Regions from separate parts of the Homo sapiens genome. Here all the other regions are linked to region 5. Evidence: promoter capture Hi-C in 16 types of primary human blood cells and fetal thymus (Javierre and others, 2016). All regions are on one chromosome and are shown on one strand. The core of a region is centred on a gene start or on the middle of the fragment in contact, and the rest is flanking DNA. Distances in the headings are between cores, read along the strand shown.

Region 1 (3,053 bases), core at 340-2,839, 2.0 Mb before region 5:
AAGAGTCTTTAGTTGAAATCCATCCTAATTACCCCAGCCCAAAGTATAGAAGAACAAAAAGTTACAGGGTTCTCTAAAAGCTTTTTGTTAAGAAACAAGCCCCATTTTAAAGAAAAATCTTAAAGGATCTATAGGAATAGATACAATTTCAGGAAGAATTTCATATCTTCAAGTTTATGTTTAAGAAGAAATACAACTGGTTAAATCAAATTTAATAACGTATTTATTTTAAGAATAAAATGCCCTCTTTTGTTGGTGCCAGAATTTGTGTTCATACTTTGTTGTCACTAGTGGTACAGATTCTCTTCTACTAAAATTTAGTTGAGGGTGTTTGAAAGACCTCAAATGGGCTTCTCTGGGTATCGTTTCTCAAGGCTCCCACAGAGTGAAAAACCAAACAGTCACAGAATAAACTCTTATAGAGGCAGTTATTCATTTCCTGAGCTAACCCACTTCCTTCTTCATACATTTCCTTCTCTTCATCAACGTGTTTTTTGAAATTAGCATTGAAATCATCTTGCAAAATATACTTTTGGACCTAGGGCCGGGATTCTAGGCAAATTCCAATGGCCATGTCATTTTTACATCATCACTGTAGTGATACAAAATTAGAACGCCAAATGAAGTGTCATGTCAGTAGTACAGAAGGCTCCCTGCAATGCTAATTGTGTTTCAGCAAAAGAATCTGAATCATTATGAACTAGATCCATACTGTGAGAAAACAAATGTTATTAAAAAAACTGAATGCAAAAAATTTCATGGTTCCTGACTACTCCATATGGAAAAGTATGGCATCTATCATAAGGAAATAAATTTTTTTAACCTTTCAAATCTTAGCGAAACTGTAATGAGTTGTTGGGTTTCTCCACTCTAAATACAACCTTGGAGATAAAAACTGGAAGTCTCACAATTATTAAATTTACCTATTTTATTAGACATGCACCTTCTCAATGATTATTGTCCTGACTTTGATCAAAGCTAACACAAGAAGTTGAACTAAAATGTGGCTCTCATTATTCTTCTGTGCTAATAAATATAAAATATAATTTAAAAAATAAAATCAGTTCTTACCTAAATATAAAAAGCTTTACTTACTTAACGACAATGAGTGATACCACAGAAACGGACAAAAGAAATAAAGTCTCTCAAAATGTTTATTTTTGTCAGAATAGCTGACAATTTTCTGTTAAGTATTTTGGTTTATTATTATAATAAGCATTTCCCCCCCTTGAAAAATCCATTCAAAATATCTCAACCATTGAGGTAAAGCATTTTAACTAAAAAAAAAAAAAAAAAAAAAATCCTAATTTGTTTTTAAAGAAAAAAAAAAATCTTAAAATTCCTTTTGCTTGATAAATAGAAATAATATCTTCTTGTTCTACTTTGGTGAACATAAATGTGCCAAGAATCCAGTCACTTACTGGCAAACCAAAGGTGGGAACAATTCATTTACACGTTCTACTCAAACACAGTGCAACACTGCCGTGTTCATATATAATTTTCTTTATAGTTACCAACACTTTTCTGGCAAAGACAAAGTTTTGGAATGGCAAAAGCAACAGAAGTTTTAGATCTCAAAGCTCCAGAAAGGAATTAATCTGAGTCTTCATCATCGAGATAGTCCTCGGCATTGCTTAATGTTCGAACTGCATCTGAAAGAAAGAGGAGGGAAAAAAGCAAAATAGGGAAATTATAAACTGCTCAGATTTTATTTTTTCATTTTCAAAGCTCTTAAATTAGAATAGAATCTTCCATCTGACCCAGGGATTGTACTTTCCCTGAGGATCTTTCTCTGCTTTTGCTTTTCAGCCTAACCATTAAGTTTCTGTTGCCACAGAGGCTGATGATGCGTTCCACAGTCATGCAGAAGTTTTGGTCCTAGGTGCCATGCATCCATTTCCAACAGAAAGGCCTAGCCACAGGCACCATGACCAACATGATACACCACCAGCAGCACTCCACTCTGACAACTGAGCTTCCAACCTCCTCTCCCAGTGACAGCCTGAGGTCTTGCCTAAAGGCAAAGTCACTAGGTAGGACGTTAACTACCGAAGGGGAAAAAGGAAAAGAAAGAATGAAAACAAAGAAGCTTCCATTTCAATGTAGAAAACACCGACAATAAAGCAAAAGGCTGAAATGGGGGGGAAAAGTTTTAAAATAGAGCTGGACCCCATCAAATGTTCAAGCAAACTTGAACAGGACTCAAAAGGAAGACATCTGATCTTTCACAGTCACCCCTTCAACTGTCTAGTCAAATTCCTATAGCAACAGATTAGCCCAAGTATAATTTTAGTGGGAAAAACAGAATGCAAACACAAGCACATTGTTGAAGTTCAATAAATATATGTCACAGCACCCAGATCTTCATGATCTCTAAGTATCACATCTCTGAAGCTTATTATACATATGACCGGTTCCAAGTATGGGGCAGGAAGTGTAAGGGATGGACCTAGAACCCTAGTCATGTCATAAAGCAAGCATCCTAACAAAGACAGCATCACGTGAAAGGGTCTGAGATTCAACTTAAAGAGGCCTCCACTAGCCAAAGATGGGCTATTGATAAAGCTACTAATTGGAATGGATTAAAGCACATTAAATATTTCAAGGCACACCAAAAAGAACTCATCTGTCACCCTTTGGAGGATGACAGAGACCAGCTTATTATTTTAAAACCTCTTAAATAAAGGTCAAAAATCAAGCATTTATCCTGCCCTTGCTACATTAACTGTTCCTCTGCGTAACAAAACAATTGATGAGGGAAAACTTTTCCTAATAGAATGTTCCAGCTAATAACTCAAAAAGAAGTGATTTAATTAGAATATCATCATTTTGTGCCGTTTAGTGAAGTAACAGATCTAGGCAACGATCATCAATGGATGTCACATCACAGGAAGAGTGACAACCAGGTATCATGTGCCCCTGATAAAAGAACACAATATTCTATATGATTTATTATTCCTTCTACTACCAAGAAAGATACATGATTAGGTAGGTAGGTAGATAGGTAGGTAGGTGAAGAGATGGATAGATTGAACCTAAATTGGATCAAACCT
Region 2 (3,444 bases), core at 775-3,274, 1.8 Mb before region 5:
CCTACCTTCAACAAGCTTACTTTCTAGAAAGGGAGACAATAAGAGTAATAAGTAAGTGAAATATATAATAGATTAGAAAGTAATCATGCTATGGGAAAAGAGGGGAATCAAGAGTCAGGAGAAATGTAGAGTGAGTTGCAATTTTAAATAAGGTGGTTAAGGTAGACTCATGAGAAGTCACATGGATCTGATGCTCAGAGGAGAGGTTTATCTGTTAAACTGGCAATAATCTGCCCCAAAGTTTTTGGGATCAAATGAGATATGTAAAAGTTCTGGCAATTAAAAAATTTTAAACTACTTCCCCACCCTACACTGCTGTGAGGCTTCAGTTAGTCTGAAACACACAAGTTTAAAGATAAGCAGAATAAGTTTGTGTGTATTCCTTTTTCAGTAAGAAGAAAAAAAGTTTCCCTTCTTTGTTGTTTTGTTGTAACTAATGACTTCTGAGTTATTATCCACAAAATTATGGGATATGTAGAATAGGTAGAAGATCCTATTACATCAATAAAAAATGCATTTAGATAGGGCAGGGGGAGGGGTGCAAGGTATTTATGTTTTACATAAAGTGGTACAATGTTAGCTCGAACTAGACTGTGAAAAAATAAAGATGTATATGAACAGTCCTTATGGCAACCACATTATTAATTCAAAGAGGTATAGCTAAGTAAATACCAATAGGTTAACTTAAAATGAAATTCATAACGATAGGAAGGAGGTAGAGTAACAAGAAAGGAAATTTTGAAAGTATTTCAAACTGAAAGATAATAAAAATACAACATACCAAAATTTGTAGGATGTAGCCCAAGCAGTGCTACAGGGAAAGTTACAGCTTTAAGTGTTTATTTTAGAAACTAACAAAGACGGCTGGGCACGGTGGCTCACGCCTGTAATCCCAGCACTTTGGGAGGCCGAGGTGGGTGGATCACCTGAAGTCAGGAGTTTGAGACCAAGCTGGCTAGCATGGTGAAACCCCACCTCTACTAAAAATGCAAAAATTAGCCAGGTGCGGTGGCATGCACCTGTAGTCCCAGCTACTCGGGAGGCTGAGGCAGGAGAATCGCTTGAACCTGGGAGGCAGAGGCTGCAGTGAGCCAAGATCGTGCCACTTCACTCCAGCCAGAGTGACTCTGTCTCCAAAAAGAAACTAACAAAGACTACAATCAGTGACCTAGGTTCTATTAGAAGAAGCTAGAGAAAGAAGAGCAAAGTAAATCCAAATTTAGTAGAAGCCAATGAAATGGGAAAAAGAGAAACTAAGAAAATATTCCAACAAATGTGATGAATGAAATGGACAAATTCCTTGAACAAGTGGATCTGGTACTACTTACAACTTAGGGTAAACTAATTTCAAATTCTACTTCTGGGGCCTTAAAAAAAAAAGAACCCAGAGCAGCAACAAAAACTCAGAAAATGTTATTTAAAAAGAAAAAGAATATTGTCTACAAAAATTATAAAGTGCCTAGGGATAAACTTAACAAAGATATAAGCTCTTTATGTTGAGAAATATAAAACTTTATTGAAAGATTTTTAAAAACTTAAATAGTTATATTCTTGAACAGGAAATGAGCTTGGTATTGTAAAGATAATAATTCTTCCCAAATTGATCTATAATCTCAATGCAATTATAACCAAAATTCCAAAAGGGTAACTAAATGTTACAGAGGATGCTATTATGGAAGAACAAAGGGCCAAGTATAGTTGACACACTCCTAAAGAACAAGATGTCAAAGACTGCTCTCAAAACTTTGATCATCTTGATGGTGGTTATGGTTTCACAGGTGTATGAATGTCAAATTGTACACTTTATATGCACATTATTGTGTGTCATTTAGACCTAGGTAAAGCTGTTTTAAAAACAAAAACAAAAAAAAGCCCGGCAAAACAAGCCTGGGCAACATAGTGAGACCTTGTTGCTACTAAAAATAAAAAATTAGCTGGGTGTGGTGGCACAAGCCATGGGCCCAGCTACTTGGGAGGCTGAGGCAGGAGGATTGCTTGAGGCCAGGAAGTTGAAGCTGCAGTGAGCAGTGATCACGCCACTACATTCCAGCCTGGGCAACAGAGCAAGACCTGGTCTCAGAAAATATATTAAGCTGGGTGTGGTGGCTCATGCCTGTAATCCCAACACTTTGGGAGGCCAGGGCAGGCAGATTGTTTGAGTTCAGGACTTTGAGACAAGTCTGGGCAACGTGGCAAAACCCTGGCTCTACAAAAAAATTTTAAAAATTAGCTGGGTGTGGTGATGTACACCTGTAGTCTCAGCTACTCAGGAGGCTGAGGTGGGAGGACTGCTTGCCCCTGAGAGGTCAGGGCTGCAGTGAGCTGTAATCATATCACTGCTCTCCAGCCAGGGCAACAGAGCAAGCCCCGTTTCAAAAAAAAAAAAAAAAAAGTTATTTAGCAATATACATACAGACATACAAATGGAAGAGTTAAAAAGCAAAGGAATGATTAACTCAACATGTAAAACGGTAATTACCGGGAGTGAGGGAAAGGGAAGGGTATGTGCCAGTGGGGAAGGGACGCATAGGGAGCTTGTCATGTTCTAGTATAGGTAGTATTCTATTTCTGAAACAGAATGCTGTATGTCTTACTATCATTCTTTTAACTACATGTGTATTTTATACAACCTTTTGCATATATGATAAGTTTCACAATTTTGAAAAAATGAGCGTTTGTAAAGAGGAACACAAAAGAACCAACCATTAGCTAAACTTATTATTTTGGGGGTACTCAAAACCTTTCAAACAGCACTTGATGACTACGATTAAGATCTTTCCTGCTGATTTAAAAATGGCAAAACTCTTCCTCTGTTTGAGACAGACGGGTTTTCAATTTATTTTTTTTTTTTTGGAGACAGGGTCTCACACTGTCACCCAGGCTGGAAGTACAGTGGTGCAATCTTGGCCTCTGCCTCCAGGGTTCAAGCGATCCTCCCACCTCAGCCTCCCTGGGACTACAGGTGCAAGGCACCACCTCTGGCTAATTTTTGTATTTTCTGTAGAGATGGGGTTTCACCATGTTGGCCAGGCTGGTATGGAACTCCTGGGCTCAGGTGATCTGTGCACCTCATCTTCCCAAAAGTGCTGGGATTAAAGACGTGAGCCACCGCACCCGGCCGGTTACCAATTTCAAACAAGAAAAGTAAAAACCAAACAGAAAAGCTATTGCTTACTACCCTAACTTGGTACATTTCTGTGCTTGTTAATAACTAATAATTAACTTGTCCTCTCACAACCACCTTGAGATGCAGGGGTACAGGGTAAATTAGTACTGAGATAGTACCTAGCACTAAAATAGAATTATCTTTCTTGCACACTTTTTCTACAGAGGATGATAGTTTTTCCCTTCAAAGCACTGGTAATAGTCTTATTTTCTTCCTTCCATTTCTGCTTACTTGGTTACTGTCTTTATCAAACTATTAAAATAGTAAATACGACCAGA
Region 3 (2,944 bases), core at 325-2,824, 1.5 Mb after region 5:
GTGTATCTCTAAGTAGAGATGGAGTTTCACCTTGTTGGTCAGGATGAACTCCTAACCTCAGGTGATTCACCCACCTCAACCTCCCAAAGTGCTGGGATTGGATTACAGGCGTAAGCCACCACACCTGGCCTTAAAGTGCCATTTTGAATACCAGTGAGATCAAAAGTGATTAGAAGTAAAATTTAAATATTATAATTTCCCCAGGCATGGACAGGTGTAGTGGTAAGAACATTTCTCCTTTGTTAGCCTTTAGCATACTTTATAATTTTACACCTTATAAACAGGAACAGTGCCTATGGGTTTAATTAGTGCTTAGTTGTTTTGTTTTGCTCCTTCATTTTTGGCTGAGAAATTAATGATATTTGGAAATATCTGGAGTTCCTTTTTCTTGAAAAGGTCACAAACCACTGATTTAAAGAGGATGACTTTGAAAATTTAGCTCACAATAGTTGTGAAATAAATGTAGTAGTACTTTGTAGCTTAAATTCCGGTAAAATTATCACTTTGTCATTTTGATCTCAGAGGAGAGCTATTATTTGTAGCAAACTACAAATATAAACTAACGTGGAATTCCTGTGGATCAAGGCATGATACATATTTATATGTGTGTGTGTGTATTCTTTTCTGAACCAATATGACAATAAGCCATCTACTCTGAAGTACAGAGGCAGCCATCTATCATTGACTTATAAAGCTTTGACCCCAGTGAGAGTGTGTGTAAGAAGGAATACCTTGAACACTTCAGAGTGAAGTCACCCAGCTTAGCTGAGTGGGGGCCACCATGCCTTGCTCAAAGCAGGTTCTCCAGTCAGCAAACATCAGTCAAGGCAGAATCTATAGGCAGTGCCTAGGAACACAGACGCAATTTCAGATGGTGAGGAAAAAGCAAGTGAAGCACACAATTTGAATCTTGGAAATATACTTTGAATCATGGGTTTAGAAGACACAGGGAAAGGGCCGGAAAAATGAGTCATCCTGCAGATGTTCTCAAAATGATGATGACAGCAGAAGATGTTTTTGCATTCTCAGGTCAATGGCACTGACTTTACCTTCCGAAGTGCAGGCGTCCTCCTCCTTGTTGTGGATCCGTGCAGCGTTCCATTCCGCTTGACGGAAAAAACGGTTTTTCCTCTTGCTGATGTCAGTCGCATTGAAGAGTATTTAAAAACAGGCATCCCTCCAAGGTAGGTCAAGCTTGTGCTGTAACAGGGAAAAGCCACCTTAAAGATGTGGAGTGCTCCAAACTGATAATGCCTGGTCAAGTCCGATTTTTTACTCTCTGGACATTCAGGGCACTATGCAAGGTGTTCATTCCTCTCCTACCTCAGATTGACGCCCATGTCGTCTAAGCTGCTTATCATTGACAAGCCATTGCTTACCTGTGGCAGAACTTGGATGTTGCAACATTTTGCAAAATGGTGGGAAGGCTCTTCAGAGGAAAAGAGCTCATTATTTGGAACATTACTATCCCACTTTTTATTTTATTTATTTTTTGAGTTTCGTAAAACAAATATCAGAGCATTATACTTTTTAGTATTAAGTTGATATACTTTGTCCACAACTCCCTCAGAAGGCTTATTACTATTTTGAAGTGATTTTCCAGGCAGTTTACCTTTGCAACCCTCTGTCGCACTGACGGTCTTGGACAGCATTGCACTATGATTGTGATACAGGAAGTCATCACCTGGGTCACTTGGAAATGACTGGAAAAGAGTAAATTGATTTTTGAAGTGGCTGAGTGTGCAATCGCTCTTACAGAGCACTAGTCTGATTGGTTTTCTTTGATGTCTCTGAAGAAAGCTGCACAGGAGAGAAACCTTTCTTTTTCTGGGTTGGTGAGACCCTGCCTGGAGGCAAGGAGATGAACTCAGGGTGTTTTCTGCCTTTGCCGCAGATGTTGATTTATACACCCGCTTTCATTTAATGGAACCATTAAGGAAGGAACTTAAGCTTTCCCCAAATTAAAGGCCTATCTAGCTTTAGAATCATTTTCCAATAGCTTATGCTTTATAGAACCGGATGCCAATAAATTCTATGAAGTCACTGGATTATTTGGATGTAACATTAAATGTATATATGTCGTTCTGTCTTCTGGCTTAAGACACTTGTACAGCCTCAATTTTCTTGCAGGATTTAAAGATTTTTCCTAATGTTGAAAATACATGCACTCACTTCCCCTAAAACAATCCAGGACATAAATCTCACCACAAGTATTTAGGACAACATGGTAGTCCTGCAAGGTACCCCATAGATTTAAGAGGTAAAACCAACTCATTAACAGAAAGGCTTTTAAGATACTGGTAATGCTGTTTCTTGATCTGCCTCTGGTTATGCAGATAGGTTTCGTTTGCAAAAATTCAGTGTGTGTGTAACATTTTAACAAAGTGTTAAGAAGGTATGGAGCAACTGGCAGTGACTTCTAGGGAGACTGAGCACGTGTCTATGTGTATAGGGTTGCGGGGTGACCTGTAAATGATCTTATGGGTAATTCTGACCTATTGAAGAAGGTCAGGTCTGCAGGGTAGCCGTGCTTAGACTGCTGCACTAATTTTAGATTGTGTCACCACTGCTTTAGAAAGACTACAGTAGGCCAGGCACGGTGGCTCACACCTGTAATCCTAGCACTTTGGGAGTCTGAGGCAGGAGGATCACCTGAGGTCAGGAGTTCGAGACCAGCCTGGCCAACATGGTGAAACCTCATCTCTACTAAAAATACAAAAAACTAGCCGGCATGTTGGTGGCACCTATAATCCCAGCTACTCGGGAGGCTGAGGCAGGAGAACTGCTTGAACCTAGGAGGCAGTTTGCAGTGAGCCAAGATTGTACCACTGAACTCCAGCCTGAGCAACAGAGCGCGACTCTGTCTCTAAAAAAAAAAGAAAGAAAGAAAGACTACCATAAAGAACCCATACCAGCATGAAACTTAAGGTACTTAATCTTAAGA
Region 4 (3,379 bases), core at 622-3,121, 1.4 Mb after region 5:
ATCTCAAGGGATAATTGCATTACTAGTGTTCTCATGATCCTCTTATTTAAATACTGCCCATCCTTTGGTGTCCAGCTCTCAAGTCACCTGTTCATGAAGCTGCCTCAGTTACTCCAGCCCCATGCCTCCTTTGCCTGAGGTCTTTTGAACCTCGACTGACTACCATATTGTTCAGTGTTTCATTATTTCATACTTGGTGTTTTTTCCCTCCAAAGCTTGCATATAAACTCTGAGGAAATGTGAGCTGATTCTATGCTTTATAAATTTTAAAATATCTGGTACAGAGTGGATAAATTGATGCTCCACAAATACTTGGCCATAGGTTGATCAAAATTGAAGGCGTGATTTTTTTTCTCCCCTCTTCAAAATTATGGCGGACCTTAAAGTTTTCATACATTAAATAGCTATGGCTATTTTAATTAAATACTGTTATATTTTTGTTATTATAATACCTATTCAAGAGGCAAGTTCTAATTCCAGTAAAGGAACACTACAAGTCAATAATCTCATTTTCTAAAAGGGGAAACTTGCGTATCACTCAGCTTGCTAAGTAATCTTTGGTTTCTCTAACCTGTAATTTCCTCATCTCTGAAAATGAGAAGTTATGTCTTTAGCCACTTGCCTCTTTCATTTTGTTGGGAGAGTGCACATGGCTGAAGATAGTGATGTTTCTCAGTCTTGGAGAGAGGTGCTATCAGTACTTACTTCATCATTCACTGTGTGCAAGAAGGAACTTGTGAAGACCTGATCAATGTATTATTTAGCAATTTTCATTTTTGATTTACCAGGATGTTGTGAACACATTTCTTTTCTAAAACAGCTTTCTAGTGTGAATCCCAAGAGAATGTATAATTTTGCCTCTTACTATTGGTTTATTTCCAGAGTAGATGATTCAGGGAAACTTTTTTTTTTTTTTTTTTTTTTTGGTGAAGTTTGTCCTGAACTAGATGCTAGCAATTTAGTTTTGTGGTAAAACTTTAAAATGGAAATGTGATGACAAATTAAAGGGTAAGATGGTTCTCTGCTGGTGGGAAGGCGTGGGATTTCCATTCTAATGGCAGGAAATCAACATATGTTAGCACATTTTTTGCAGATCTGCAGTAAATAATGGTAGTGCTTAGATTCGGCTATATTATTCCTGCATTTTAATGGGTTGGATGGAATATCAATGTGTTTATAGAAAATTGCCCAGATCAAAATCCTCGTCTCAGGAATTGGGATCCAGGACAAGATTCTGCAAAGCAAGTTGTTATCAAGGAGGGAGATATGCTCCGTCTGACCTCAGACGCCACCGTGCATTCTATAGTCATTCAGGATGGAGGTAGGTAATGGTTCCTGCCTATGGGAACTGCAAGGTTGCTCTTTAATGTGGGGGATATTTGATGTTCCTTATGTAGAAGACTATTTTTAGGCAGAATAGGCTTTAGTTTGTGGTGTCACTCTAACCATGGAGATTTGGAAAGATCATGAGATAAAACCAGAGAATTTATCCAGAGATAAAAAACATAGAATTTAAGAGCTTAGACCTTAGGTATCACTCAAATCAAGACCCCTGATTTATAGACAAGGAAACAGTTCCAGAGAGGTGATCTCTCAGAGCTAAATTTTTGTCACAATTCTGAGAGTGATTTTGTCACAATTCTGAGAGTTAACATGAGTAAACATATACAAAAATAAGATTCAGATTTGTAGACTCTTAGATATTTTTAAGAGAAATGATTTAACCTCTAAAGTGAGTAGGTTGAAATTCACAGTCATGGGCATTGAGAGTATATTAAGATATGAACTCTTCATTTTTCCCTTTAGTTTTCTAAGCAGATTCTTAGCGAATTCTTTTTTCCGACCTAATTGCGGAAGTGTATTTAACTTAAGGTGAAATCTATTTCCTTGTATCTCAGAAAGATGATTTAGAAGTTGGCTTACAGGGTGGTGTTCCCTGCAGGACTGCTTGTATTTGGGGACAATAAAGATGGATCCAGAAATATTACTTTGAGGACTCATTACATCCTGATCCAGGATGGTGGGGCGCTTCATATTGGAGCAGAAAAATGCCGCTATAAATCCAAAGCGACAATTACCTTGTATGGCAAGTCAGATGAAGGTGAAAGTATGCCAACATTTGGCAAAAAGTTTATTGGTGTGGAAGCTGGCGGGACACTGGAGTTACATGGGGCACGGAAGGCATCGTGGACGTTGTTGGCAAGGACCCTGAATTCCTCAGGCTTGCCCTTTGGGTCCTATACCTTTGAAAAGGACTTTTCCCGGGGCCTCAATGTGAGGGTCATTGACCAAGACACGGCCAAAATTTTGGAAAGTGAGAGATTTGATACCCATGAATACCGCAATGAGAGCAGGCGGCTTCAGGAGTTTCTGAGATTCCAGGATCCAGGTCGGATTGTTGCCATAGCTGTCGGGGATTCAGCCGCTAAAAGTCTCTTACAAGGAACCATCCAGATGATCCAGGAACGGTTGGGAAGTGAACTGATCCAAGGACTGGGCTACAGGTAGGCATACCTTCTTCCCAGATCCCTATCAGAGTCCGTGTCTGTGTGAGAGGAGAGTGAGGGTGGGGAAAGGAGCCACAGCCACAGCATGACTCAGGCATCAGAAGGGCCACTCTACCATTTGCATGTCTGGTAGCTTTGAGACATGGGGCTGGAGGATAGGACACCACATACAAAAGCTATTTTCATTGGCTTTGGTTTACAAAGCCCTTTGTGAACTGGAGTGCCAGACTTGTGAAAAGTTGAGAGCAGAAGTGTGGTACTGAAAAACAGTCAGGCAGTTTAAGGACAATTTGCCTCTGAAGATACTTCTTCCTTTCGTTACCTTCTGAAGATCATATGAAACTCAGGCTAATTGAGGCAACTTAATGAGTTTAAAGGTTAGGGCAGAATTTCATGCTAAGTTCTAAACCTGTCTTAAAAGGCTGAGGGGGTAGAATATGCAGTTTTTCTTTTTCTTTTTCTTTTTTCGGACTCCTTTGCAGGCTGATTGGAATCTGCATGTTTGATTGGCACAGGTCTATGGACCCCTGGCATATATGAGGAAGGAAAAAGTTAAAGGGCTAGGAAATTCATCCAGATAGTAGAATTCATTTCTGCTATTTATGGTTCTTGTACCCTATTCCTTTTATTTTTATTTTTAGTGACAGGGTCTTGCCCCGTTGCCCGAGCTGGAGTGCAGTGGTACAATCGTATCTCACTGCAGCCTCAACCTCCCAGGCTCCAGTGATACTTCCACCTCAGCCTCCCAAGTAGCTGAGACTACAAACAGTTGCTACCACACCTGTCTAATTTTTAAACTTTTTGTAGTTGAGGGGGTCTCACTTTGTTGCCCAGGCTGGTCTAAACTTCTGTGCTCAAGTGATCCTCCTGCC
Region 5 (2,970 bases), core at 321-2,820:
TTGTTCTGAGCTTCCTGATGAAATTCTGTCCAATTTTAAAGGAAAAGGAAATAGTTGACTTCAAAAAACTGTTTATAGTTTATCATTGAAAAATAATAGGTCTGCTGGTTTACCTCTGATTTGAAATGTCGTAAATTAATAGGTCTAGAGAGAGCTAACGTCATATTCAGAAATCAACCTTTGCAGACCTTCTGGTTGAAAAAGTATTTAATAAGCATGAAACTCTGGCTGGTTCCTTAATAATATTATTATTAACTATTTTGTCAACATCTGTTAAATGTTGGCTATGTGCTGGATGTGGTTGAGCCTGGAGCTAGGGTGTTACTGTCACTTTTGGGGAAGAGGCCATTTCAGAATTATGAAACCAACATTTTACCACATTTGAGTCATTTGCAATGTGCATTCTCTTACAGCTACCAAAATACTCCTGTGGAAAGAGGGCAACATTGCTTTCTCAAAGTTTTTACAATCTTTTAGATATAACCAAGGCAAGAAAAATTCCATCCTTGTTAATTAGCTAGCAGTGAACATAAGAAATCAGAACATTTAATAAATATTTAAAATGAACGAACAGAAAAATTCTTGAAGGAACATGTTTAAGAAAAAAATAGCCAGATACATGATTTGTAATCTCACTTTTACAAATATATCCAACACTAGTAAATACTCTTCTTTAGTTTTGCTTTGTGCTTTTCTAAGGAGTTTTATGGCCATTAGCTCATGCAACAATCAAGTGGAATAGCTGTTGGAGGGCCTCACTGACATTCCCCTAGGATAATGTATCTGACACTACCCAGAAAGTATTTCCCTTCTTTTTAGGTTTTCCAGCCAGCACTTGAAAAGACTGTATATGACACAGAGCCTACAAGAAAAGGAATGTGGCCACACCCTCTTTAAATGAAAAAAGTAATAAGCGGACCTTCTTATTTTAAATAGCATAAGCAAATATAACATATATTTTTAAATGTTTATTACAAAGAGCATGATTAGCACTTTGAGGTCTGAATCTATCTTGTTTTCCTTACAAAAGAAGAAAATAAATTATGAAAGTCCTACTATTTTGAAACAGTTCCCTGCAGCCCACTCCTATCACTTTTGTTCTTGCCCCCAAAAAGCAGCCCCCATCACGATTTCTCTGTAAAACACACAGCTCTTGGGAAGAAATATTTCAAGGGGAAGGAAAGGAAAAACACATTCTTTTAAGGCTACCAGAGGGAAAGCACATTCTTCCCTTCTTTCTCATGGTAACTTACCAAGAGTACAATGAGCCAGTATTAAGCAAACTTATCTTATTTTTACTTGTATTTGTTAACTAAGTAGAACAAAAATATTGTAATTTGTGATTCCTAAAATATAAATATCCAATGTAATTCTACAGAAAGATTTATGAATGACTTATCATGTTAAATGCAACTAACCATAAATCCTGTAGAAGCAGTAACATTTAACATAGTGATGAGAAAAGTTTTCAAAACAACCAAAACTAACTAAAAGGAAAACCAAGACTTACCTTTATCTCTACCTTCTTGCAAAGAACTAAAGAGAAATTCTTCTCTGAAGATTTCACACTGGCAGTGGAGACTTGGGCTTCTGATTTTATAGGATTTTAAAGGAAGCCACACCTAGCAACCAGAAGTTAGTAATTGGCTGCCTTCTGTTTGAAGTACATGGCTCAGCTATGTCCAAAAACAAAGTGAAACAAGTCTTGCAAAACTACTCACTAAACCAATTCAACTGGCATTACAAAGGAAAAGAAATGGAAGGGCTGATTTTTCCTCCCTCTTTATTTTGCACTTTTATTTCCAGATGGGATATTTATTTTGCACTTTTATTTTCAGAGTATACATCTGCCCCAATCCTAATACCAGTGATTGGCACACTTTTGTAGTTAAATAGGTTGTAGACTAAAAAGTATGTTACCTTCAAAACTAAACAAACCAACAAACAAAATATTACATTTGAATTCCACCTCCATCACTTATTATTCTGTGACTTTAGGGACATACTTAATTTTTCTGAACCTGTTTTTACTTTTGTTTTGTTGTCTTTTTCCCCCGCTTTTTGTGGAGAATGGGGTCTCGTTATATTGCCCAGGCAGGTCTCAAACTCCTGGGCTCAGGCTATCCTCCTGCCTCTGTCTCCCTAAGAGTTGGAATCACAGGCGTGAGCCACCATGCCTAGCTGTTTTTACTTTTGTATATAGGAGCATTATCTAAGTTGTCTACCCACTAGAATTCTTGTGACAATGGAGAAATAACATATATTTGTAAATTTTAACATTACACAGTGCCGAATAATTTTCTATTTATATTTTTCTTGCCTTAAAAAATAAACGACTTTTGTTCCTAGATATAGCTTGTTGTTATAAATAAGAAATATAGAAGTAATAAAGTTCCAGATTGGCTCAAAATTTTGAACAAAGGTAATGCCAAAAATTTGATCATTATGACATTCAATAAAAGCATTGACATCAGAAGGCCTATCTACATTAATTCTTTTAAATAGAGTCAGTTACATAGAACTATATATATAAACTGTAATATAGATCAGTTATATATACATTTTGATACACATCTTTGACATTGTAGACTAGTTGAACACCAAAACAAGGAACTAGACCTATAAAATGAAAGGATTAATGGAGCAGCAACTATTACAGAACACATTCCATAAGAAATTTCCCACCCAATGGAGGAAAATTGGTTCTGGTAACTTCCATAGTGGTTCATTTTCATTCTTCTTTAAACCCTACAAAGTATTATATGATGTTTCCATTAAAGTGCACAGGTGTAAAATCTCACAGCATTATGGCTCAATTTATGCTGCATTTAGTGGTTTGTTCTTTTTCCTCTTTTCCTCATAGATATTTCACATAAAAAACATGAAGTTTAGGAAGTTAATGAAAATACTTTCTAAAGATTGGCAGTATTTTATAATACATTCTAAGTGCTCGATGCCAATATCAATGAA
Region 6 (3,133 bases), core at 634-3,133, 1.9 Mb before region 5:
AGCAACAACAATACTATTGGGAGACTATTTGTTATAACAAAAGATTGAAAACAATCCAGAAGTACGTTAATTAGGGTCTGGTTAAATGAGCTCAGCAGAATACTATGTAGTTATTTAAAAGAACCAGGAAGTTCTCCTGGTTCTAATATTTGTGTTGTATTGTTTGTTTGTTTATTTGAGACAGGGTCTCGCTCTGTCACCCAGGCTGGAGTGCAGTGGCACGATCTTGGCCTCCCAGGCTCAAGTGATCCTCCCACCTCAGTCTCCTAAGTAGCAGGGACTACAAACACGCACCACCAAGCCCAGCTAATTTTTTCATATTTGTTGTACAGAAAAGGTTTCACCATGTTGCCCAGGCTGGTCTCAAACTCCTAGGCTCAAGCAATCTGCCTGCCTGGGCCTCCCAAAGTGCCAGGATTACAGGTGTGAACCACTGTGCCTGGCCTGTACATTTTTCTGAAACTCCTTTAATTTGATAAGAGAATCTTGACACCTCACTCATATCAGCCCACTGAAAGGTGTCCCTGTATCATTTTTTTTTTAATGTAGTCTTTCCCTGTCCATTAAGCAAGTGAGGACAACTTTGGCAATGGGTTCTGTTATGCCCTGAGGTATAAGGTGTGTATTAGAAAATCTCACTGCACTAGTCACGTAAGTCAAATTGTGGGAATGCTGAAACGCCAAGGGAGGGGACCCCAGTATTTCCAGAAGGGAGGAATGCTTATCAGAAGCACATAACCTCCAGCCTTTGCTACTTTGTAGTAAAGCTACAAGAAAAGCCCAATCACAGTCTCTGAGTCCACCCCCACCTTCTTTCAGGGAAAAAAAAAAAAACCCACCTTTTTTTTGTATCAAAGCGTTTTACATTATCTGTCATTCATAACGATTTAGTGGCTGTGCAGTTACAAAGAAATAAAAGACTGTTCCACTCTCAAAAAGTGCATAGTTTAATGCTCTAATACGGATCCATTGAAAGAGGGCAGTTACACAAACCAAATACCAATAATACAACTGCATAAGCTAATAAAATGACTGTCCAACAAAAGCAGGTCCAACCCAATAACATCTCTGGCAGGTTTCTCTGCTCATATGCATGGACTCAATTAAAGCTTCTGTTCCACTTCCAGGTCACACCAACCACTCACTAGCTTTGAGATCTTAGATAGTTTACTTGACCTCATTAAGTACTACTTCATCCATAAAACAGGGATATGAGGACCCACCCACCTGATAGGAAAGTCAGAATAATTAAAGGAGACAGAGCATACACAGTGCTGGGTGCAGTGCCTGACATATGGGGCCAAATATATGTTAACCATTCCCATCATCATCATCATTGTGAAATTTTCAAGATGTTTCTCAGGCTTTATTCTGCCAACAGGTATAAAAAGTATCAAGTTTATAAAAGAAGACTATTCACGTGCATATTTCACCTCACTTTTGATTAATTCCTTTGTTGGGGTAAAAAATACATAAAAATTAAGTTCATTTTAGATAAAAACCTTTTTTTCTCAAAAATGTTATTTAAGCAGCATGCGTGTGATGTCTTTTAAGTTTTATGATGTTTTTACTCTGAATAACAAAAAAACCTGAAACACTGACATTTGCTTCTTCAAAGTTCCATGAATTTATTTTCACAAGGCACATGAAATATTTATGCTTTACTTTCACCACCAAAATCAATAAGCCATTTGGAAAAAATGGCCAAGGTCAGACACCAGGTTTCCAACTACAATAGATAGTTACCAAACCTGCTTAGAATGAGATGATTCTACAGCCCAAATCTCATTCAGTATCCTTTGGCCCATTCTTACTCTCAGAATAAAATATTTTTAAAAAGATTTTACAAGAACAAAAGTTCTGTTTTCTACACTTCTACACTCTAACAAGCCAGACAGATTCACGCTAATTGAACTGCAAGGCTTCTGAGAGTGGCTGAAAACAACATAAATGCTATATGTGTAAAACTAAGAGGTTGTACTCATTCAGAAAAAGGAAAGGAGGGTCTCAGCCAGGTTTGGTGGTGAGCATCTATAATTCCAGATACTCTGGAAGCTCAGGAAGGAAGAAGACTGCTTGAGCACAGGAGAGCAAGACCAGCCTGGTCAACATAGCAAAATCCCATCTCCAAAAAAAAAAAAAGAAAGAAAGAAAGAGAGAGAGAGAAAGAAAGAAAGAAAGAGGGTATCATAAAGAATGAGCTGAAGACCACGAAATTGCAACACATCTTAGTAGAGTACCATGGTGGCACAGATAACAGTTAAGGGAGAAAGTTTCAATGACAGACCTTGTGTGGCCAAAAGTGATTCTACAGAAACAAAATCAGTAAGCAAGGAAAGGTCAAACTGCGACAGAATTGATTTTTCAAGCAGAATGCAGGCAATACCGTATAGCCTTTTGGAAACATATGCCAACCAACAGCAAGACTTTTCAAACGGAAGCTGAGACGCTGTTCTGAGGGTAATTGTTTTTATTTTCTTTTTTGAAATGAAATGGATGTGAAGAAGAAAGAAACCTGAAAGAATATTCAACCAAATGTAAATAGTGATTATCAGTAGATGACAGGGATGATTCCTATATTTTAGTTATATATTTATTGTTTACCTTTTTCTAAATTTTCTAAAAATAAAAAAATTATATTTTTACTTACAAGCTTTTTTAAAAAAAACAAAATGAATGAGATCAGCCATCCACTTGTAAATATGGGATACTCTAGGTAATATCTGTAGATACATACGTCTTCCCCATTAGACTCAGGACCCTCGTGAATGACACCATAGATTATTGTTCCTGGGAACCCCAGTGTCTAGCACAGGGCCTAATATATGAGCTACATTTATTAAGAAACATTTGTTTAGCAAATGAATTCTGGATATGGCCAAAAACCCAAACAAGGTAACCCTGATCTATCCTCCAGATGGTACAAAAATGGCCAGGGTCTCCCACTAGCATCTGCCCGGGACTTCCCTGGGCAGCCTCCTTCCACAAATCGGCCCCCTGTTGGGGATGTGCTGATCAGCCAGAAAGATGCTATTAGCCTGCATTATAGCTTAATGTCCCTTGTTTTTAATATCTTCCAGCAAGTCCTTTGTCCTTACTCACCTAGCTCCTTTCCTTTTAGTATTGTCTACTG
Region 7 (3,120 bases), core at 436-2,935, 1.9 Mb before region 5:
ACATGCCTGTGAATCACTTGGGGATCTTGTTTAAATGCAGATTCAGATTCAGTAGGTGAGGTCTGAGATACTGCATTCCTAACAGTATCCCAGGAGATATAAATGAGCTGGTCCATACTTTTGAGTAGCAAATGTGGACTGCAGGTATCACCCATTAAGCGTTGGGTAGAGGGGAACCTTCCAGAGACTGAAAGGATTTTAAATGGAGAGACAGGAGTCACGATAGGGTGTTAGAGTGATTCTGCTAATTCAAATACGATAGCCCAATCTTACCCTTTATTAATAATTTCAGAAAACATCAGGGCCAGATGATAAAAACAGGCCAAGATCTTGGAGACTGGCTTTGCAGTGAAGGTGGAAGTAGAAAGTATCTTTCTTACTTGTGTGAGGGTCTCAGACAAAACACAAATCTTTTGCTCTGAACATCCTGTGGTACTCCCATCTTTGCCACTAAAAGTAACTTAAAATAACAAAAATAATCTGTAAGATAAATATGAGGAAGTCCAACCAAATTCTGATATTTCCCCCCATGATTACTATTTTGATGCTTCTTGGGGAAGTAATAAATACATAATTCAGCCAAGCACAGTGGCTCACACCTTTAATCTCAGCATTTTGGGAGGCTAAGATGGGAGGATCACTTGAGTCCAGGAATTGGAGACCAGCCTGGGCAACATAGTGAGACCTTGCCTCTACAAAAAATAAATACAATTAGCAGGGCATCATGTTGCATGCCTGTGGTCCCAGCTACTTGGGAGGCTGAGGCTGGAGGATGGCTTGAACCCAGGAGGTAAAGGCTGCAATGAGCCATATTCATGCCACTGCACTCCAGGCTGGGCAACAGAGCAAGACCTGGTCTCAAATACATACATAAATACATATATACATATATACATACATACATACATATCTTCCCAAAATGTTTTATTTGGGTGCAGTTGTTTGGCTAATACCCTAAGCATGCATGAGAAAGCATTGAATAACGTCAGTTCAGTGTATTCTTTTAACTTGAAATGTTCCCCAACAGCAACAAAAAGATTTAAAGGTTATGGGATGGGAAGATATCTTTGTAGGGACCATTATAGGATCCCTAGAAAGAGAGACTTATTCCTAGCAGTACATACCCTGTGATGTTTTTCTGTAAACTAACTTAGCACTAATCAGTTACACAAAATCCATTTCACTTCACTTTTTAACCACCCCCTCAAAAATTAACAACAATAATAGAATTTTCATTCCAAGTTTGAGAATAACCATTGAGAGCATTAAAACTATGTGCATACAAACACTGCAACTGGGTTCTGGTTCCTGTGATTAAGAAAGAATATAAAAATTCACTAAAGGTGTTCTGTGAGTTACCAGGAGTAATAAGACAAAAAACAATTTAATTATCGTACAAAATATTTAAATAAAAAAACTCACCAAAGGCACAAAGTGACCATTTACAGGAATCATATCCCTAGCTCCATAGTGGAGAGCATTCTTATTATTTTAAGAGCAAATTATAATATCCTTCATGTGGATCCAGGGACTAGAACAAAGAATACAAAGACAAAACTAGCTAGATCTAAGTCAAAGACTTAGAACTCTATGCAAAGGTTTTGCATAAAGAACAGAATTAATAGAGGAATCCCAAGAGTAAAAATAATAAATCCTAGAATGACGATGAGAATTATAAGGGAGCCCTTGTATTAAGTGAAAAAAGCCCCTACTTGCCTTTGCCTTTTTCCTTGAGGTTTTAGCTCAACAGTAGTTTGAGTCATTGTTGATATATAAACCAGATTTTTAACATAAAGCATAAGAAATTGTTTATTTTCTCTATAAACATACTCTGTGGGCAATCTAGTCTTTCAGTTTTGGTCAGCAAAATATATATTTTCTTACCCAACTAAAATGCTAAATCACTGCAAACAATTATTTACAAATTAATAAGATTTCCAAAAGTAAAACAACTTCATGAAACTTATTTAAAGATAGACAAGACAAACTTCAGCAGAGGCAGTAGATCCAGTGGTTAATCATTTCCTGGGCTTGCTTTCAAATTGAGGCTTTACTTATTAACAGCTGTATGACTTTGAGCAAGGTACTTAATTATAGTGTGCTCACTGGTTTTTTAAAAAGTGTGTGTCGGGGGGGTCCCAGCTATTCCAACCTGGGCAACACAGCAAGTCCTTGTTTAAAAACAAACAAAAAACAAAAAAGATGATACTATTGTATTAAGTTATATGTAATGATATATTACAGGGTTTAGTGCAGTGTCTGGCACTTGTAAATTCATTTATTCATTTCAAAAAGTGGTTATAGAAAAATCTCACTTTGTTAGATGCTGGGGATACAGGCATGAACAAAACAGATATGCCTTCTGCCCTCAGACATACAGTCTACTAGGCAAGGCAGTTAAAAGGTCAGTTAAAACCAACATAATATATATTACAAACTTTCAATGAGGCATTTAGCTGGGAAATGTGAGGCTAATAAAAATATATTTAGTAGCTGCTAAACGTTAATGTTTAAAAATATGTATATATACTTAGGATTAATAGATGAGAAGACTTGCACATTTCAAAGCCCTTATTTACAAACATTTATTGATTATGAAACATCCTTGAAAATAATGAGGGAGTAACTTCGTTGGTATGACTGGGAAAACAAGTTGAGTCTTCCTGGTTCAGACAATAGAGCATGGAGTTTGGTGAGTTAACATTGATATAATTAATGGACCTTATCTGAAATTCACCAGATGGATGAATTTGTGAGTGGTATTCATTTGCGTGTGGGTTGGTGTGTATATTAATTTTTAAATTTTATTTTATATTTTGTGGGGCGGTCTCCTGAGCCAAAGTAGGCTGAGAGAAACGCCCTAATTTTTATGCAATTGTATCTCGTGTGTAGATTTGTGTGACCACTGCTATAGTCAACATACAGGACAGTTCTACTACAAGTTTCCCTTGAGCTACCCTTTCATAAACATAGACACCGCCCTTACTCCCCACCACCGCCAACCCCAAGCGACTAATCATCTGTTCTCCATCCCTATAATTTTGTCATTTTGAAAATGCTACATAAATGTAATCGTATTACTTGAAGCCAGGAGTTCAAAACAAGCCTGGGCAACCAAGC

Evidence for each region. The method cuts DNA at HindIII sites, captures the fragments that hold promoters and counts their contacts. A CHiCAGO score of 5 or more calls a contact.
Region 1: a fragment that was not itself captured here is called in contact with the fragment with the promoter of ANXA1 in region 5 in 4 of 17 cell types (activated CD4 T cells, total CD4 T cells, non-activated CD4 T cells and 1 more); the score reaches 11.0 in activated CD4 T cells.
Region 2: a fragment that was not itself captured here is called in contact with the fragment with the promoter of ANXA1 in region 5 in 2 of 17 cell types (monocytes and naive CD8 T cells); the score reaches 5.4 in monocytes.
Region 3: a contact is called between a fragment that was not itself captured here and the fragment with the promoter of ANXA1 in region 5, in 3 of 17 cell types (M2 macrophages, monocytes and non-activated CD4 T cells). The highest score is 6.5, in M2 macrophages.
Region 4: a contact is called between a fragment that was not itself captured here and the fragment with the promoter of ANXA1 in region 5, in 1 of 17 cell types (monocytes). The highest score is 7.9, in monocytes.
Region 6: a contact is called between a fragment that was not itself captured here and the fragment with the promoter of ANXA1 in region 5, in 4 of 17 cell types (non-activated CD4 T cells, activated CD4 T cells, total CD4 T cells and 1 more). The highest score is 8.2, in non-activated CD4 T cells.
Region 7: a contact is called between a fragment that was not itself captured here and the fragment with the promoter of ANXA1 in region 5, in 1 of 17 cell types (total CD4 T cells). The highest score is 6.9, in total CD4 T cells.

Annotation. Positions count from the first base shown.
Region 1 is chr9:75,145,282-75,148,334 of GRCh38, reverse strand. OSTF1 (osteoclast stimulating factor 1) reads right to left here. Exons shown (of 10, transcript NM_012383.5): 10 at 1,070-1,652. The coding sequence ends at 1,594. Among named protein-coding and RNA genes, the nearest start is that of OSTF1, 58 kb to the right of the region's middle. The HindIII fragment of the contact is 1,004 bases long and covers 1,088-2,091 here.
Region 2 is chr9:74,954,088-74,957,531 of GRCh38, reverse strand. All of the region lies in intron 1 of CARNMT1-AS1 (CARNMT1 antisense RNA 1), which reads right to left. Among named protein-coding and RNA genes, the nearest start is that of CARNMT1-AS1, 2.8 kb to the right of the region's middle. The HindIII fragment of the contact is 4,014 bases long and covers 18-3,444 here.
Region 3 is chr9:71,688,332-71,691,275 of GRCh38, reverse strand. It overlaps CEMIP2 (cell migration inducing hyaluronidase 2), which reads left to right. Exons shown (of 24, transcript NM_013390.3): 22 at 1,030-1,184. Among named protein-coding and RNA genes, the nearest start is that of CEMIP2, 79 kb to the left of the region's middle. RefSeq lists an enhancer at 102-1,301. The HindIII fragment of the contact is 756 bases long and covers 1,197-1,952 here.
Region 4 is chr9:71,744,143-71,747,521 of GRCh38, reverse strand. CEMIP2 (cell migration inducing hyaluronidase 2) reads left to right here. Exons shown (of 24, transcript NM_013390.3): 3 at 1,181-1,321; 4 at 1,943-2,504. Among named protein-coding and RNA genes, the nearest start is that of CEMIP2, 23 kb to the left of the region's middle. RefSeq lists an enhancer at 2,824-3,379. The HindIII fragment of the contact is 3,308 bases long and covers 218-3,379 here.
Region 5 is chr9:73,150,465-73,153,434 of GRCh38, reverse strand. It overlaps ANXA1 (annexin A1), which reads right to left and starts at 1,570. Exons shown (of 13, transcript NM_000700.3): 1 at 1,511-1,570. The HindIII fragment of the contact is 9,458 bases long and covers 1-2,970 here.
Region 6 is chr9:75,092,074-75,095,206 of GRCh38, reverse strand. The region is part of intron 1 of OSTF1 (osteoclast stimulating factor 1); the gene reads right to left. Among named protein-coding and RNA genes, the nearest start is that of OSTF1, 5.1 kb to the right of the region's middle. The HindIII fragment of the contact is 1,544 bases long and covers 1,112-2,655 here.
Region 7 is chr9:75,032,917-75,036,036 of GRCh38, reverse strand. No RefSeq gene overlaps it. Among named protein-coding and RNA genes, the nearest start is that of CARNMT1, 6.2 kb to the right of the region's middle. The HindIII fragment of the contact is 6,453 bases long and covers 1-3,120 here.